Regions from separate parts of the Homo sapiens genome. Here region 2 is linked to region 1. The links are contacts of gene promoters, found by promoter capture Hi-C in blood cells and fetal thymus (Javierre and others, 2016). All regions are on one chromosome and are shown on one strand. The core of a region is centred on a gene start or on the middle of the fragment in contact, and the rest is flanking DNA. Distances in the headings are between cores, read along the strand shown.

Region 1 (7,547 bases), core at 2,117-4,616:
AGTGAGCCGAGATCGCACCACTGCAGTCCAGCCTGGGCGACAGAGCGAGACTCCGTCTCAAAAAAAAAAAAAAATATCCAACCTAGTTGGGCCGCTGCCCTGGGGAGTGAAGGGAGTCTGCCCAGCCCCCGCCCACACTCAGCAGCCTTCTTCCCACCCTCACCCATGCCGGCCAAATTCCTGAAACTGGGAGTTGGAGGTTGCAGTGAGCAAAGATCGTGCCACTGCACTGTAGCCTGGGTGACATCGAGAGACTGTCTTAAAAAAAAAAATTAGCTGGGCATGGTGGCATGGACCTGTAGTCCCAGCTACTCAGGAGGCTGAGGTGGGAGGATTGCTTGAGCCCTGGAGGCAGAGGCTGCAGTGAGTTGAGATTGTGCCACTGCACTCCAGCCTGGGTGACAGAGCGAGACCTTAAAATAAAAAAGAACAAAAGAGCTCAGACACCCCAGTCCTTCCGGGGCATCAGATGGCCTGAGACTCAAAGAGGACAATATGTGTGTTTTTCTTTTTTTTGAGACAGGGTCTCACTCTGGCCTAGGCTGGAGTGTGATCACGACTCACTGCAGCTTCCAACTCCTGGCCTCAAGCGATCCTCCGGCCTCGGCCTCCCAAAGCACTGGGATGACAGGCGTGAGCCACCGCGCCCGGTCCCTGTCCTCTGTTGCGATTTGGCAGGCAGCTCCAAGGATGTACGGAGGCACCCCTCCCTCCCCCAAACCCCCTCCCAGGATGGAGACCCCCACCCAGGTCTTGCAGGACAGTGGGTCCAGGCACGCCCCAACTCGCCCACCTGCCAGGCCTGTGATGAGAGGCTCTCTGGGTGGCCGCCGGGCGAGGCCCCCTGTTCAAGGTCAGGGGAACCCACTATTGGGACAGGTCATGGGGAGAGTTTGGAAGGAGCTTCTGTGGGGGCCGCAGAGACCCCAAGACTGCTTCCCTCACACGGCCAGTGGGTGGGGCCTGCTCAAGTCCACCCCAGCAGCCCCAGGCCTGGCGTTCAGAGGTGGTCTGGGACTGTCTGATGTCCTGCTGTCCAGGTCTGCACCAGCCGTGAGCCAGTGCACAGGACAGTGTTCTGAGGACAGCAGAACGTGCCGGCCACCCCAGCCCCCATCAACACTGGAGTGGCTCCTTGTCACCCAGCTGGGCCACAGCAGGTACAGGAGGCCCCAGAGCAGCTGGCATCAGCAAAGAAGCATAGAGCCCTCGAGGATGTGCCATGGGGTCATGGGGGGCTAGGCAGCCCCCTGCCTCCTGACACCGCCTGTTCCACCCTGTGGCCACAGCCCTGGGGAGCGGGGACAAGCAGAGCGGCCGGGTGTGGCTCATGTCCCCTAAGACAGCTCCCTTTGCAAGGCATCAGTCTCCCTGGCTGTGAAATGAGAGTGACCCCTCACAGCATCCCCCCTCCATGGCGCTACCCGACAGAGGAGACAAGTCACTGAGGTCATGGACAGATTCTGAAAAGGCAGAGGTGCGGCCCTCTACCCGGCAGCGTGGGGCATAGGGACGGCAGAGAACAGCTCTGGGGTGGGCCAGGCTGGAAGCTTAGCAGGTGGGCCGGGCACACCTGCACCCACTGGGAGGGGAGGACCACTGAAGGACCCAGCAGGCCAAGGAAGTCCCCTCTTCCTCCTGCCAGGCTGGGAGGCCCAGAGGGTGGCTGGAGAGGGGCCCTGAGTCCAGAGAAGCTGCTCCCAGGCTGTGTGGCCAGGGAGCAGAGGTTCAGAGGCAAGCCCAGCTCCCCTCCCCGTGGGCCACAGCAACCCCAGGCCAGGCCCTTTCCCACTGGCTTTCCTGGGGAGCGTTCCTGAACAGGAGGAAATAAAGGTCTGTGGGGAGAGAGTCTGGGGTGAGCCAGCCCAGGGGGCCACCCCCACCGCACCATTGCACGGGCCCTGTGGCCGTCCTGTCTCAGGAGACCATGGAAAGGCCGTGGGTCCTGCCTGTCTTTCCAGAAAAGCCTGTCGCTATCTCCCCTCTGGGACACCCCAGCTCCTGATGTGGCCTTTCCAGCCAAGCTGCAGCTGGACAGCAGCCACCACGACCTGGGGCTGGCAGAGACCCCTCCATCCCAGAGGGAATCAGGGACACCCCTTTTTCCGGGGTGTCCAGAGGCTGCATATTGAACCAGGGCCTTGGAGGCAAATGCAAGGTCTTCCCCCGCTCCCTCCCTGGGGGCCTCAGTCACCGCCGGTGAGTTTAGGTTTGTTCCGAGGGGCTTAGACTATTGGCCCCCAGATTCCTGGTGTGCCTGGGGTGGCGGGACTGCTCCGGCGGGGCCCTCTCTCCACAGCGCAGCCGGCCTGGGGCTGACAGCTCCCGAGCAGGGCAGGGCTGGTCTGGGCACTGGGCCCCGTTCACAGCCAATGACAGGACCAGTGGCCTGGAAGGGAGGGACTCCGCGCCTTTGGACTCCAGTGCCTTGAAATCCCACAGACCTGGGAACCGAGTCAGGGATGCCCGGCCGGGAGAACGAACGGGCGGGCGGCGGGTGGACCAGGACCTGCGTCCGGCCCCACCTCTCCCAGGCCTCACCTGTCCTGGCGCCCGCCCCGGAGCAGCCAGGTGCAGGGAGCCGGGGGCAGGGGCGCCGCTCACACCCAGGGACCCCCGGTGCGGGAAGGGCGTGAGGCATGACGTCACCGCGAGGTGGCCCCGGAGCCGGCGGACCCCACAGCCCAGCAGAGACCTCCGGCTGGCGGCCCGTTCCCTCCCTGCAGCCAGCCCCGATTTCCTCTTTCTGTGCGGAGCCCGAGCTTTCGCAACGCGGCGGGCGGTCCGCGGTGACCGTCAGACACGCAGCCCGGCGGGGGAGGGGAGGCGGCGGCAGGGGGGTTTCCGGGGGTCCTGGGGGGGGCCCCCCCGCTGCGCCCGGCCCGGGAAGACGTCCGGGTCCCCGCAGGTGCAGCCGGGCCCGGGCCCCATCCGAGCGCCGATCCGGCCCGGTGTTCAGCGCCGCCACCCCCGCGGCGTCCGCGCTCCCCCGCCCGGTCCCCGGGGCCCACCCAGGACCCGCCCGGCACCCCGCGCCCACCCCGGACCCACCCGGCCCCGCGCCCACCCGGCCCACACCTACCCGGGGCGCCGCAGTCCGCGCAGCGCGCGTTCCCCGGCCGCTGCAGCAGCTCCAGGACCGCCCTGCGCCGCTCCTTGGCCATGGCCGCGATGCGCCCGCGATGCCGATGCCGGGGCCGGGGCCGGGAGCGTCAGCCCGGCTCGCTAGGGCCCCGCGCAGGCCGCCCGCCGCCGCCGCCCCTGCGCCATCCCGGGCGGCCTCAGCCCGCGCGCCGGTTCCGCATTCCCGCCGCCCTCTGGGCTCCGCCGCCGCCGCTCGTGTCTCCGCCGCGGTCGCTGAGCGAGTGCCGGCGCGGGGCCCGGGGCGCACGCTGCGCTCTGGCCGGCAAGGCCCGCGGGCGGCCCCCAGCGGTGCAGGCGAGCGTGTGGCCTCCTCCCTCGGCCGCTCCGGCGCCCCCAGCCCGCGCGCCCCGGGGACCCGCTGGGAAATCGCCCGCCGCCCGCCCCCCATCCGCGCGCAGCGTCCCACCTGCCTGGGCGCGAGGCCGCCCCAAAACCTGGCCGGCCTGGGTGGGACCCTCGTGCCGCCGCGCGCGGTGGGACGGAGCCTGCACACCTACTGTGGGGGGCGCAGAGGGCACCTGCCGAGCCCCCCAAGACCATGGGCATGGGGGTGCTCGTGGAAGGCAGGTGTGCGTGTCCTGTGCTACGGACCAGGACCAGGGCGCTCACACCATCCCTGCCTGGGAGGGACGGCCAGCAGGTGACAAACGCCAGCGTCCCAGGGCACTGAGGCCACACAGGGCCCAGACGGAGCCTCCCCCTGAGACCCACCCAGCCGCCCACCACCCACAGATGGGACCCTCTGGGCACCCCTCCCACTCAGGCAGGCTGAGGGGCCCCGCCGGGACTTCACATGGGGGCTGACAGGTAACAAAAAACCTGGTTTTGATGTCACCTCTTCCCAGACTCGCGTGCCCTTCCTCTGCACACCCCAGCATCTTTTCAAATTCTTTCCATTTTCTTCTTGCAGGGTTAATGCAGTACACCCGGCTGAAAACAAACTGGAACATACCAGACTGAAAAAGGAAAGCCTCTCCCCACTGCCTTCCAGGCAACCACTGTTAACAAATTCCTCAGCACCTTCCAGAACGAACGTCTGAGGCCTGTAGCCTTTCATTTATTTATTCATTTATCGAGACAGGGTTTTGGCTAACGGCTGTAATCCCAGCACTTTGGGAGACCCTGGCGGGTGGATCACTTGAGCTCAGGAGTTTGAGACCAGCCTGGGCAACATGGTGAAACCCCGTCTCTACTAAATACAAAGAAATTAGCCAGGCGTGGTGGCGCATGCCTGCAATCCCAGCTACTTGGGAGGCTGAGGCAGGAGAATCGCATGAACCTGGCAGGCAGAGGTTGCAGCGAGCCGAGATTGCGCCATTGCACTCCAGCCTGGGCAACAAGAGTGAAACTCCGTTTCAAAAAAAAAAAAAAAAAAAAAAAACCAAACAAACAAACTCAAAAAAAGTTCAACTGAACCATGACTTGTTCACCCAGTCACTGGCATAGGGGCATTTAGAGCGTTTTGAATGCATCAGAATCATGGTCTACACAACCTCATCTTTGCAAGAGTTTTGTGTGGATTTGCTCTCAAAGTGGCATCGCTGGGGCAATGGTATGGGATGTGGAATGGCCTCCACTGAGGCTGCACTGACCAGAGTGCCACCAAAGGCACCTGTCCCCCTGCTCCAGCTGACGTGGAATCATGGAGCTGCTTAAGCTCTGTCTACCTGAAGCAGAACGCGGCAGCCCGTTTTGGTCTGTGTCTCTGGGATCTGTGCCCTGTGGCATCACGTGCTCTTTCCCTGTAACCGTTCACATGGGTCTTTCTCCTCCCTCAGACGGGAGGCTTTGGGGTGGGGACAGGTGGCATTTTCATCTCTGGGTCCCTGTGCCAGGCTCGGAATCCACCACACAGCATGAGCTTGGAGAATGTCGCCTAATAAAGACAGACGAACATTAATAGCAGCAGCTCAGCACTAGGTATTAGGAGAAATAGCCTGACTTGTATTTTCTATTTTCTTTTCTTTTCTTTTCTTTTTTTCCTTTTTTTTTTTTTTTTTTTGAGACAGGGTTTTGGTCTATCGCCCAGGCTGGAGTGCAGTGGCACGATCTTAGCTCACTGCAACCTCTGCTTCCTGGGGTCAGGTGATTCTCCTGCCTCAGCCTCCTGAGTAGCTGGGACCACAAATGGGTGCCACCATGCCCAGGTATATTTTTATTTTTTGGTAGAGACAGGGTTTCACCATGTTGCCCAGGCTGGTCTCGAACACCTGACTTCACGTGATCTGCCTGCCTTAGCCTCTGAAAGTGCTGGGATTACAGGCCTGAGCCACCACGCCTGGCTTGACGTGTATTTTCTTTTTTCTTTTTTTTTTTTTTGAGACAGAGTCTTGCTCTGTCACCCAGGCTGGAGTGCAGTGGTGCGATCTCGGCTCACTGCAAGCTCCGCCTCCCGGGTTCACACCATTCTCCTGCCTCAGCCTCCCCAGCAGCTGGGACACAGGTGCATGCCACCACGCCCGGCTAATTTTTTTGTATTTTTAGTAGAGACGGGGTTTCACCGTGTTAGCCAGGATGCTCTCGATCTCCTGACCTCGTGATCCGCCTGCCTAGGCCTCCCAAAGTGCTGGTATTATGGGCGTGAGCCACCGCGACCGGCCGACATGTATTTTCTTATTAAAGCCCCATTTTCAGCTGGGAAGACTGAGGCACGGGGAGGTTCGATCCCTTGCTGGAGGCCACACACCTCAGGACTGGAATATACATAAAACAATATAACAAAGCAACACACCCTAACATAGCCGTTACCCAAGGTCCCCAAAGACGGGGAGGCCATCATACAAGGCATAGAAAAGGCAGCAGGGAGGCCTCAGGGGAGCCGGTGCCCAACAGGCCAGAGCTTCTGGCACAAGCCAAGGCCATCTACTGCCTGCTGTTCCGGGGCCTCCTCCGTGGGGCAGCTCCAGCAGGCGAGTGTCTTGCCTTCTCTGTCCTTCCATCCCGCTAAGGGAACTGTGGCATTGCTCGGGGGGCAGGAGGGCGTGAGGATGAGACAGAGGTGGGTGAACCCCTCAGATCTAAGAGATGTCGGGGCTGAGGGGGATTCTTCCAAAGAGGAGGCTGCTCGGCCGAGATCCGCAAGTACCTGCCTGGACCCGAGAGCACAGCCGTCCTGAAATCCTGCTGCCCTGACTGGCTGTGGTCAGGGCTGGGCGGGGCAGTAGGGGAGCCCAGGACTCAGGAAGAATCCGGAAGGTAACAGCATAGCTCAGGGTGGGCCAGACCCAGACCAGTGCTGGTCAAAGGCTGTTCCGGCCAGCAGCGGCTGGCGAGGGGCCTGGACAGGCGGCGTGCCTGCTCCTGCTCATGCCCAGTGGCCTACAAGCTCTGCTGAGCCTCCTGCCCCTTGTCACTGACCCGCACGGCTGCACCAGGGACCCTGACACTCATTCCTCAAGCATCTCCCTAGTCCAGAGCCAGAGGCAGCCGCCTCCTGTGACCACTCGGCCACACAGCAGACCCTGGGCAGGGGGCTCCCGAGAGCAGGGCGAGCTCCTCCAGCGTCGCCTGAGCACGGGGCCTGCGCGTGGTAGGCCAGCAGGCGACTTTGATTGGAAGCTGGCTCCTCCCAGGCCTGCAGCTGCGGGGTGAGCCTCTCAGCACAGGCAGAAGGGGGCTCTCCCCAGGGAAGGGGCAAATGGACTGAGGCCGGGCTGGGCCCTGCTCTGCGACCATCTTGCCCAACAGTCAGCCGAGCTTGCTCAACCAGGAGCTGCCTCAGGGGAGGGGAGGTTGTGGAGGTTCACTTCCCTCTCCACCCCGCACAGGGGCCGGGGCTAATTCAGTCAAATTATCTGCGCTTGGACAGCGTCTGGCACGATGGCCGTGAGCTCAGTAGGCCGCCCTGCAGGCCAAGCAGGGGTCTTCAACATCCAGGCTCAGCGCAGGGGTGGGCAGCTCCTGGCTCTACCTGCCTCAGCTGTGGGGATGGGGGTCGTGATGTTGGGCCCCCATGTGGCCGGCCCCCTCCAGGGAAGCCCACTGGCTGTGGCCTCCACCCTGTCCTCTGCGACGTGCCTTTGGCCCTGCGCAGACCCTCCTGGGCCTTCTGACTGCTGTGAGGGCCCTGCCACCCCTCGGGCACCTGGAGTAGGAGTTCAGCAGCATACGGATCCTAAAGAGCTCTGCTCAGGAGGGGCTTAAAGGAGACACGGGGATTCCCCAGAAATAGCCACTGCGCCCCGAAATGCAGGGGAGGGGGAACCACCCAGGACCAGAGGTGGTCTCAGCACAATTTTCTGGGAGTGGGGCTAGACCCGGAAACCCCTTTGGAAGCAGGGAGTCCTCAGGGGCCTCCCCAAGATGTCATGCCATGGAGGTGGGTGCACAGGTTGGCTTACTGGGTTTTGGGGCATTTGAACATATCTTTTGCTTGGTTTTCCAAACAGAGATGGGGTCTGGAG
Region 2 (7,547 bases), core at 1,779-4,278, 220 kb after region 1:
AACCTGAAAGTGCTTGATGGTCTTTGTGAATCTGAAATCCGAGCGAAGCGTCAGACCCTCGAGTTTCCCCAGGGGAACTCCGTTAGTCTCCTGGGATTTGATGTATTCACGCTTTGTTCCTTCTGGACCAGTCACGCCCCACGCCAATCTGAGCCGTCGGGGGTTGGCCCTTCCAGGATGCTGTGATTAGGTCTAGGGAATTCCACCTGGAGGGAAGGGTGGGCTGTGTCCTAGGGAATTCCACCTGGAGGGAAGGGTGGGCTGCGTCCTCGGGAGGGAGACAGCAGGTGGCAGGCTTCGGCCTCCCAGGCAGCCCTATTGAAAAGTGAAGCCACCTGGACTTCCTGGGTCAAGTGGGGACTGGGACAACTTTTCTATCTAGCAAGAGGATTGTAAAATGCACCAATCAGCGCTCTGTAAAATGCACCAATCAGCACTCTGTAAAATGCACCAATCAGCACTCTGTAAAATGCACCAATCAGTGCTCTGTAAAATGCACCAATCAGCACTCTGTAAAAATGCACCAATCAGCGCTCTGTAAAATGCACCAATCAGCACTCTGTAAAATGCACCAATCAGTGCTCTGTAAAATGCACCAATCAGTGCTCTGTAAAATGCACCAATCAGTGCTCTGTAAAATGCACCAATCAGCAGGATTCTAAAAGTAGTCAATCGCAGAGAGGATTGAAAAAAGGGCACTCTGATAGGACAGAAATGGAACATGGGCGGGGCCAATAAGGGAATAAAAGCTGGCTGCCACCAACCACCCCCGCCCCCCCCCCCCACCTCTAGCCAGCAGTGGCAACGTGTTCGGGTCCTCGTCTATGCTGTGAAAGCTTTATCCTTTCTCTCTTCACAATAAACCTTGCTACTGTTCACTTTTTGGGTCCGTGCCATCTTTAAGAGCTGTTAACACTCACCGCGAAGGTCCCTAGCTCCATTATCGAAGTCAGGGAGACAACGAACCCACCAGCAGGAACCACCTCCGGACACACTATGTCCCTGCATCCCCGAAGCTCCCGCTACTCCCTGGAATATTCTTTGAAAAGGGTCCCTGTGTCCTTTTTTGCCAGCAACAGAAACTCTAAAAACAGCCACCATTATAGCAATCAATTACCAAACTCTTCTGCTGAGGCCAGGCAGAAAGCAAAGCACAACGGACCTTACCAGGAGGCCCCGCCGCTCCTGTCCAGCCCCTGCCCACTCACTCAGGTGCTCATCACCCCCAGGAGGCTCCACTGCTCCTGTCCAGCCTCTACCCACTCTCTCAGGTGTCCATCACTTCCAGGAGGCTTTGCGCTCCTGTCCAGCCCCTGCCCACTCACTCAGGTGCTCATCACCCCCAGGAGGGCCCCCCTCCCTGCCCAGCTTCCCCCTACTCACTCAGGTGCTCATCACCCCCAGGAGGCCCCACTGCTCCTGTCCAGCCTCTACCCACTCTCTCAGGTGTCCATCACCTCCAGGAGGCTTTGCGCTCCTGTCCAGCCCCTCCCCACTCACTCAGGTGCTCATCACCCCCCGGAGGGTTCCCCCCCTCTGTCCAGGCCATCCCCGCTCTCTCAGGTGGTTGTTGCCCCCGGGGAGGGGCCCTGCTCCTCATCCAGCCCCTCCCACTCACTCAGGTGGTCATCTAGGGGCGAGGTAGACAAAGCCCAGGTACCGACGGCCTTTCCGTCCTCTCTGGTCCCTCTTGGCTGGAGTTCAGGCAGCTAGGTGGCTGGATTCTGTGTTAGGGTGTAGGACAGTGCTAGCCCGGGGTGGCGGGTGCCAGGTCCCTGACATTCCGGGTCTGAGCAGCTGGCAGGAGACTGGGGCAGGAGCCAGCAGTAGCTGCCCTCACCCACAGCACCAGGCTGGCCTGCGTGGGAATCAGAACCCACTGCCTGGTGCTCACAGAGAAGGAGTTTACTCTTCCCCCACCCCCAAAACTGAATGGATTTAATTAGCAGTTTGGGGTTCTCCCCTGTCACGGCTTTGGTCTAAGCTGATGAGGAAACCACAGACTCTCCCACTTTTGTACCCTTTCTTTGATGGGCAAGCGGACGCAGGCGCTGGAAGCCACGTGGCCTGAACCCGGCTCCTCTTGGGGCCTCCCGTGCAGGCCAAACTCCTTTTCTCTGATTGTTATATTATCCCAGAGAGGGCAGAATGGAGCTGGCCGAAAGCTTTTGAACATTGAGTCACGAGTGCAACGCAATGGAGGACTGCGGATATGAAATCTGACAGAGCTGCTGCCGCTGGCCATGCGGCGCCCAAGGGTGGGTGGGGTGTACTCTGTGGCTGTCCGTCATCAGCAGGAGACAGCTGCCCTCTGCCAGGTTGCCGGGGCCGAATTCTCCCTGGCTTCGGATGGCATGGTCCAGGTAGCTGGGGGTGGAAGATTCCGTCCCCTGGATCCACACAGTCACAGCACACTGTTGCCCACTGCATGGCAGCCTTGAGGCCGCCATCTCCTCTATCCTTGGCTCTCACACATGGGGCTCAATCCTGTCTCTTCTCTTTTTTTTGTTTTTTTGAGACGGAGTCTCACTCTTGTCGCCCAGGCTGGAGTGCAGTGGTGTCATCTCAGCTCACTGCAACCTCCGCCTCCCGGGTTCAAGTGATTATCCTGCCTCAGCTTCCCGAGTAGCTGGGATTACAGGCATCTGCCACCACACCCAGCTAATTTTTGTATTTTTAGTAGAGACGGGGTTTTGCCATGTTGGCCAGGCTGGTCTTGAACTCCTGACCTCGGGTGATCCACCCACCTTGGCCTCCCAAAGTGCTGGGATTGCAGGCGTGAGCCACCTCACCCGGTAAACCCCGTCTCTTCTCTAAGGACACATAGGCCCCAGTGTGCCTCCTGCTTCCCCTCCTCCTGCCACATCAGTAGCCATCCACTCTGCACGTCTCGGCGCCTCCCAGAAGCTTGCTCAGAGCACATTAGAAACGCCCGTGATGGAAATCCATTCCTGTTAGGTTTAAGCAGGAAAGAGGATGGCAGGTGCCAGGGTGGCTAAGTGGGCACATAAAGAACCCAGCGACACAGACTCGCAAACGTGACCAGACCCTAGAACCAGGGGAAGAGTGTGCCGTGAAGACAGGCACAAACAAGGCAAATGAGTAATTATGTGGCTGCAGCTTCCGCAGCAGAGCTCGATAAGCAGCGCTAAGCTTCCCCAGCCCCATCCATCCAGGGCCAGGAACCCGGGGGGGAGATGGGCCCGATGTGCCACATCCACACAAGCATTAAAATTGAGTCCCACAGGCACAGGACCCCATCCCTTCCCATTTTCCCTGACAGTCTCTTTCAGGGTAAAGGTATAGAACACAGTTAAGGTTTCTTACCTCCTTCCCCGCAATAATAATTGGCAGTTACTCAGCTCTCTGGGGTGTCGTAAGTAAGGGGCGCACGGGGAGACCAGGCTGCTATCATTAGGAAGTACTGATTTTAGCTGGACTGGACGCGTGTCAGCCAGGAGATGCAGTGAATAGAGTGAGGTGAGAGCACCCCCACTCCACACACCAATTTATTTTTTTTAATTTAAATTAATTTTTTTTTTTGAAACAGTCTTGCTCTGTCACCCAGGCTGAAGGGCAGTGGCACAATCTCGGCTCACTGTAACCTCCGCCTCCTGGGTTCAAGTGATTCTCCTGCCTCAGCCTCCTGAGTAGCTGGGATTACAGGCACATGTCACCACACCTGGCTAATTTTTGTATTTTTAGTAGAGACGGAGTCTCACCACGTTGGCCAGGCTGGTCTCGAACTCCTGACCTCAGGTGACCCACCTGCCTTGGCCTCCCAAAGTGCTGAGATTACAGGCGTGAGCGGCCGCGTCTGGGCCTTGTCCCTGTTTCAGCTAGTCCTCAATTAGGTCTAATGTCCAAGCCCCGCCTCTGGAGTCAAGTCCCCGCTCCCACCTCACTTCCAGGCCCCTGACAAAAGAGCCACGCCACCCGCCACCGCCCGTGGGCTGTGTGTGTTCTTACCGTGGGCCACTGTTCTTCCTACACAGAGGAGTGGACGGCCAGATGCGTGGCCTGAGGCTCTGGCCCGGAGATTTCTGTCCACAGTGTCTTTCAGGGCCACCTCTGAGTGGGCCTGTAACGTGGCAACAATCCACTTTCAGTGGGTGCTCAGTACTGAGCCAACCCACTTGCGAACCAAGGGCGGCTCTGTTCTTCCTCCGTCTGCTGGTCACCAAGTTCCCCTCCCATGACCGCAGGTGGGAACGGGCAGAAGGTACTGGCGTGGCAGTGGAGGGTGGTGTCCCCCCCGCACTCGGACCTGCTTGGGCCTGTCCCATGGACCCTTCCACTCGGAGCCCTGCGGCTGGGCTGCCTGGCCTGTGACTTGTTGGATCTGACGGGGTCCAGCTCAGAAGGGAAGCTCTTGCCACATAGTTGCTTCATGCCCCCTGGCCAGATAGTGCCCTGTTCCGTCTCCGCCAGGGCCAGACGGTTCCCTGCTGCAGGGGACATGGGGCAGGGGACACCTGGCCTTGCTGTGGAGCCTTGGGAATACAGTGTGTTCTCTGGTCGGGCTGTCATGAATTCCACACACGTCTTTTCCCACCCCAGCTACCCCTAGTGCCATGAGGGTCAGCAGGTGTGAGCCACCATGCCCAGCTAATTTCTGTCATTGTTTTTGTAGAGATGGGGTTTCGCCATGTTGGTCAGGCTGGTCTTGAACTCCTGTGTTCAAGCGATCCACCCGCCTTGGCCTCCCAAAGCACTGGGATTCCAGGTGTGAGCCACCACGCCCGGCCGGGACAAAATTTTAAACGCATGCTTTTGTCCTTCCGTGTGAACAGGAACTGCTTCTGATCTCCGTACTGACAGGGATGGGAAAAGGCCCTTTCCAGCTCAGCGGCCAACGTCGCATCCCTGAGGCCGTGTGCCTGCTCCGGGGAAGACGCCGTGCCTGTAGCCGTTTCGGGCTTTGACTTGGTGAGGTCTGCACCATCCTCGGTCGTATTTCATGACTGGTCTTGCTTTTTTGCAGGGGCCAGAATAATTATTTAAACGGGCATGGGATGGGGACCTCTGGATCTTTACAGCTGGCTCAAAGCCCTGCCCGTCTCCCAGGAACACATCATTGCTTTGATTTCTTATCTTGCAAGGGGAGCCGGGGCAGCAGGGGCTGCAGTTTCAGAGGCTTCTGCGTGGCCGTGTCCGCCAGGACAGCTTCCGGGACACCGAGAAACCCATGTGGGCGTTTTCCAGGTACCACGCGCGCCCTCCAGTGGTGGTTGCGGGAATGACGGCTGGTCGGGACCAGAAGACCCACTGGGCACCATGAGCGTTTCCTCCCTAAGCATTAACGGCAGCGTAGACCCCCGTCCAGCCGTCCCTGAAGTGTCCGGCATCTCCTTCGAGGGAGGCTGTAGGGTCCTCTCGTGCAAGGCCCAGGCGCATCGTGACAGCTTGCACGCGCTGTGGTTCGGGGAGGTCTTCCTGCAGGCACTGAGTCACAGGTCAAAGGCTGGCTCAGGTCAGGAAGCCAAGCAAAGCACCGAGACGTTGCCTTGCAGTGGCTTCCCGCCGCCCTCTGGTATCCATTGTTGACTTCTCTTGGTTCGATCTTTAAGTAATATTCTTGTTGGCTGTCTGTCTGTCCCCTAGGAATACCACGTTTTATGAACCATCTTCATAGCCGTCTGCAGCTCCCGCTTCCCCGTCACCACTCAGCCTGCTGCCCTCGCAAGGATTCCACCCACCTGGCTTCTGATGAGTCAGCACTACCACCTGACCCCAATTATTCTGGGGTCCCATGATTTTCATTGCTACTAGGGAAACCTTTCTAGAACCACGTCTTGTATCGTCTGCTCTGGCTTACAGAGGACAGACACTCCTGAGCCCCTTGACAGCACCGGTGCCCCCGGCCAGCCCATTCCTTGTTGATACCAGGTTGCATTCCCCTGGGCCCTCCTGTGCAACGTGGTTGGCTGGCGTTTTGGTTTTATTGTGTTTTCCCGCTGTATGTGGTATCTCCCTGTTAACTGCCCACTTCTCGGAGCCTTCTTTTTTTAAATTTTTTCTTATGGTAGAGACAGGATCTTGCTCTGTTGCCCAGGCTGGAGTGCAGTGGCATCATTACAGCTCGTCACACCGAGGAACCCATGTGGGCGTTTTCCAGTTACCACGCGCGCCCTCCAGCGGTGTTTGCGGGAATGACGGCTGGTCGGGACCAGAAGACCTACCGGGCACGAGGAAGCTTTCCTCCCTGAGCATCAACCGCAGCCTAGACGCCCGTCCAGCCGTCCCTGAAGTGTCCAGCATCCCTTTCCAGCTTTATGTGGTATCTCCCTGTTAGATGCCCACTTCCTGGAGCCTTCTTTTTTAAAATTTTAAATTTTAGAGACAGGATCTTGCTCTGTTGCCCAGGCTGGAATGCAGTGGTATCATCACAGCTCACTGCAGCCTCGAACTCCTGGCCTTAAACGACCCTCCTGCTTCTGCTTCCTGAGTAGCTGGGATTACAGGTGCACCCCACCGTGCCCAGCCAATTTTGTTTTTTAGTTTTTGTAGAGATGGGGTCTTGCTATGTTGCCCAGGCTGGTCTTGAACTCCTGGGCTCAAATGATCCTCCTGCCTCAGCCTCCCAAAGTGCTGGGATTACAGGTGTGAGCCACTGCACCCAGCCAGATCATTTCTTTTCTTTTTCTTTTCTTTTCTTTTTTTTTTTTTTTTTGAGACGGAGTCTCACTGTTTCGAGGCCAGGCTGGAGTGGTGCAGTGGTGTGACCAGGGTGCAATCTGGGCTCACTGCAACCTCTGCCTCCCAGGTTCAAACAACTCTCCTGCCTCAGTCTCCCAAGTAGCTGAGATTACAGGTGCCCACTACCACGCCGCTAATTTTTTGTATTTTTAGTAGAGATGGGGTTTCACCATATTGGCCAGACTGGTCTCGAACTCCCAACCTCATGTGATCCACCTGCCTTGGTCTAACAAAGTGCTGGGGTTACAGGTGTGAGCCACTGCACCCGGCCTCATTTCTTTTTATTGTCAGATAATATTTCCCCAGACGGATGGGCCACACTTTGCTTATCCATTCAACATTTCCCTCTTGAAGGTCACCTTGGTTGCTTCCAAATTTGAACAATGGTGAATAAAACTGCTACAAACATTCACATGCAGGTTTTTGTGTGAATATATGTTTTCAACTCATTTGGGTAGATTCTAAGAGGCACAATTGCCGGATCTGATGGCAAGAATATGTTTAGATCCGTAAGAAAACACCCAAGTGTCATTCTCACAGCCATGATGAGAATTCCTGTTGCTCCACGTCCTCACCAGCATTTGGTGATGTCGGTGTCTGGATTTTGGTCATTCTAACAGCGGTGTGGTGGTTTCTACATTGTCGTTTTCATTGGCAGTTCCCTAAAGACATAAGATGTTGAGCATCTTTCCATATACTTATTTGCCCTCTGTATATCTTCTTTGGCATCTGATACCCTTTATAAGGTCCAACTTATCAATCTTTTATAGATTATGTTTTTGGTGTGGTATCTAAAAATTCATTGCCAAGCCAGGCGTGGTGGCGTGTGCCTGCAGTCCCAGCCACTG

What was found. Contacts are between HindIII fragments. The CHiCAGO score rates a contact against its expected background, and 5 or more counts as called.
Region 2: a contact is called between a fragment that was not itself captured here and the fragment with the promoter of ADAP1 in region 1, in 1 of 17 cell types (naive B cells). The highest score is 5.2, in naive B cells.

The regions. Positions count from the first base shown.
Region 1 is chr7:951,314-958,860 of GRCh38, forward strand. It overlaps ADAP1 (ArfGAP with dual PH domains 1), which reads right to left and starts at 3,367. Exons shown (of 11, transcript NM_006869.4): 1 at 3,083-3,367. The coding sequence starts at 3,164. It overlaps LOC124901569 (a long non-coding RNA gene), which reads left to right and starts at 3,541. Exons shown (of 2, transcript XR_007060178.1): 1 at 3,541-3,951; 2 at 4,055-4,177. RefSeq lists enhancers at 1,817-2,428, 3,651-4,260 and silencers at 2,554-2,763, 3,054-3,543, 3,563-3,718, 3,574-3,673, 6,915-6,974. The HindIII fragment of the contact is 7,508 bases long and covers 1,549-7,547 here.
Region 2 is chr7:1,171,080-1,178,626 of GRCh38, forward strand. No RefSeq gene overlaps it. Among named protein-coding and RNA genes, the nearest start is that of ZFAND2A-DT, 14 kb to the left of the region's middle. RefSeq lists an enhancer at 1-319 and a silencer at 6,085-6,134. The HindIII fragment of the contact is 246 bases long and covers 2,906-3,151 here.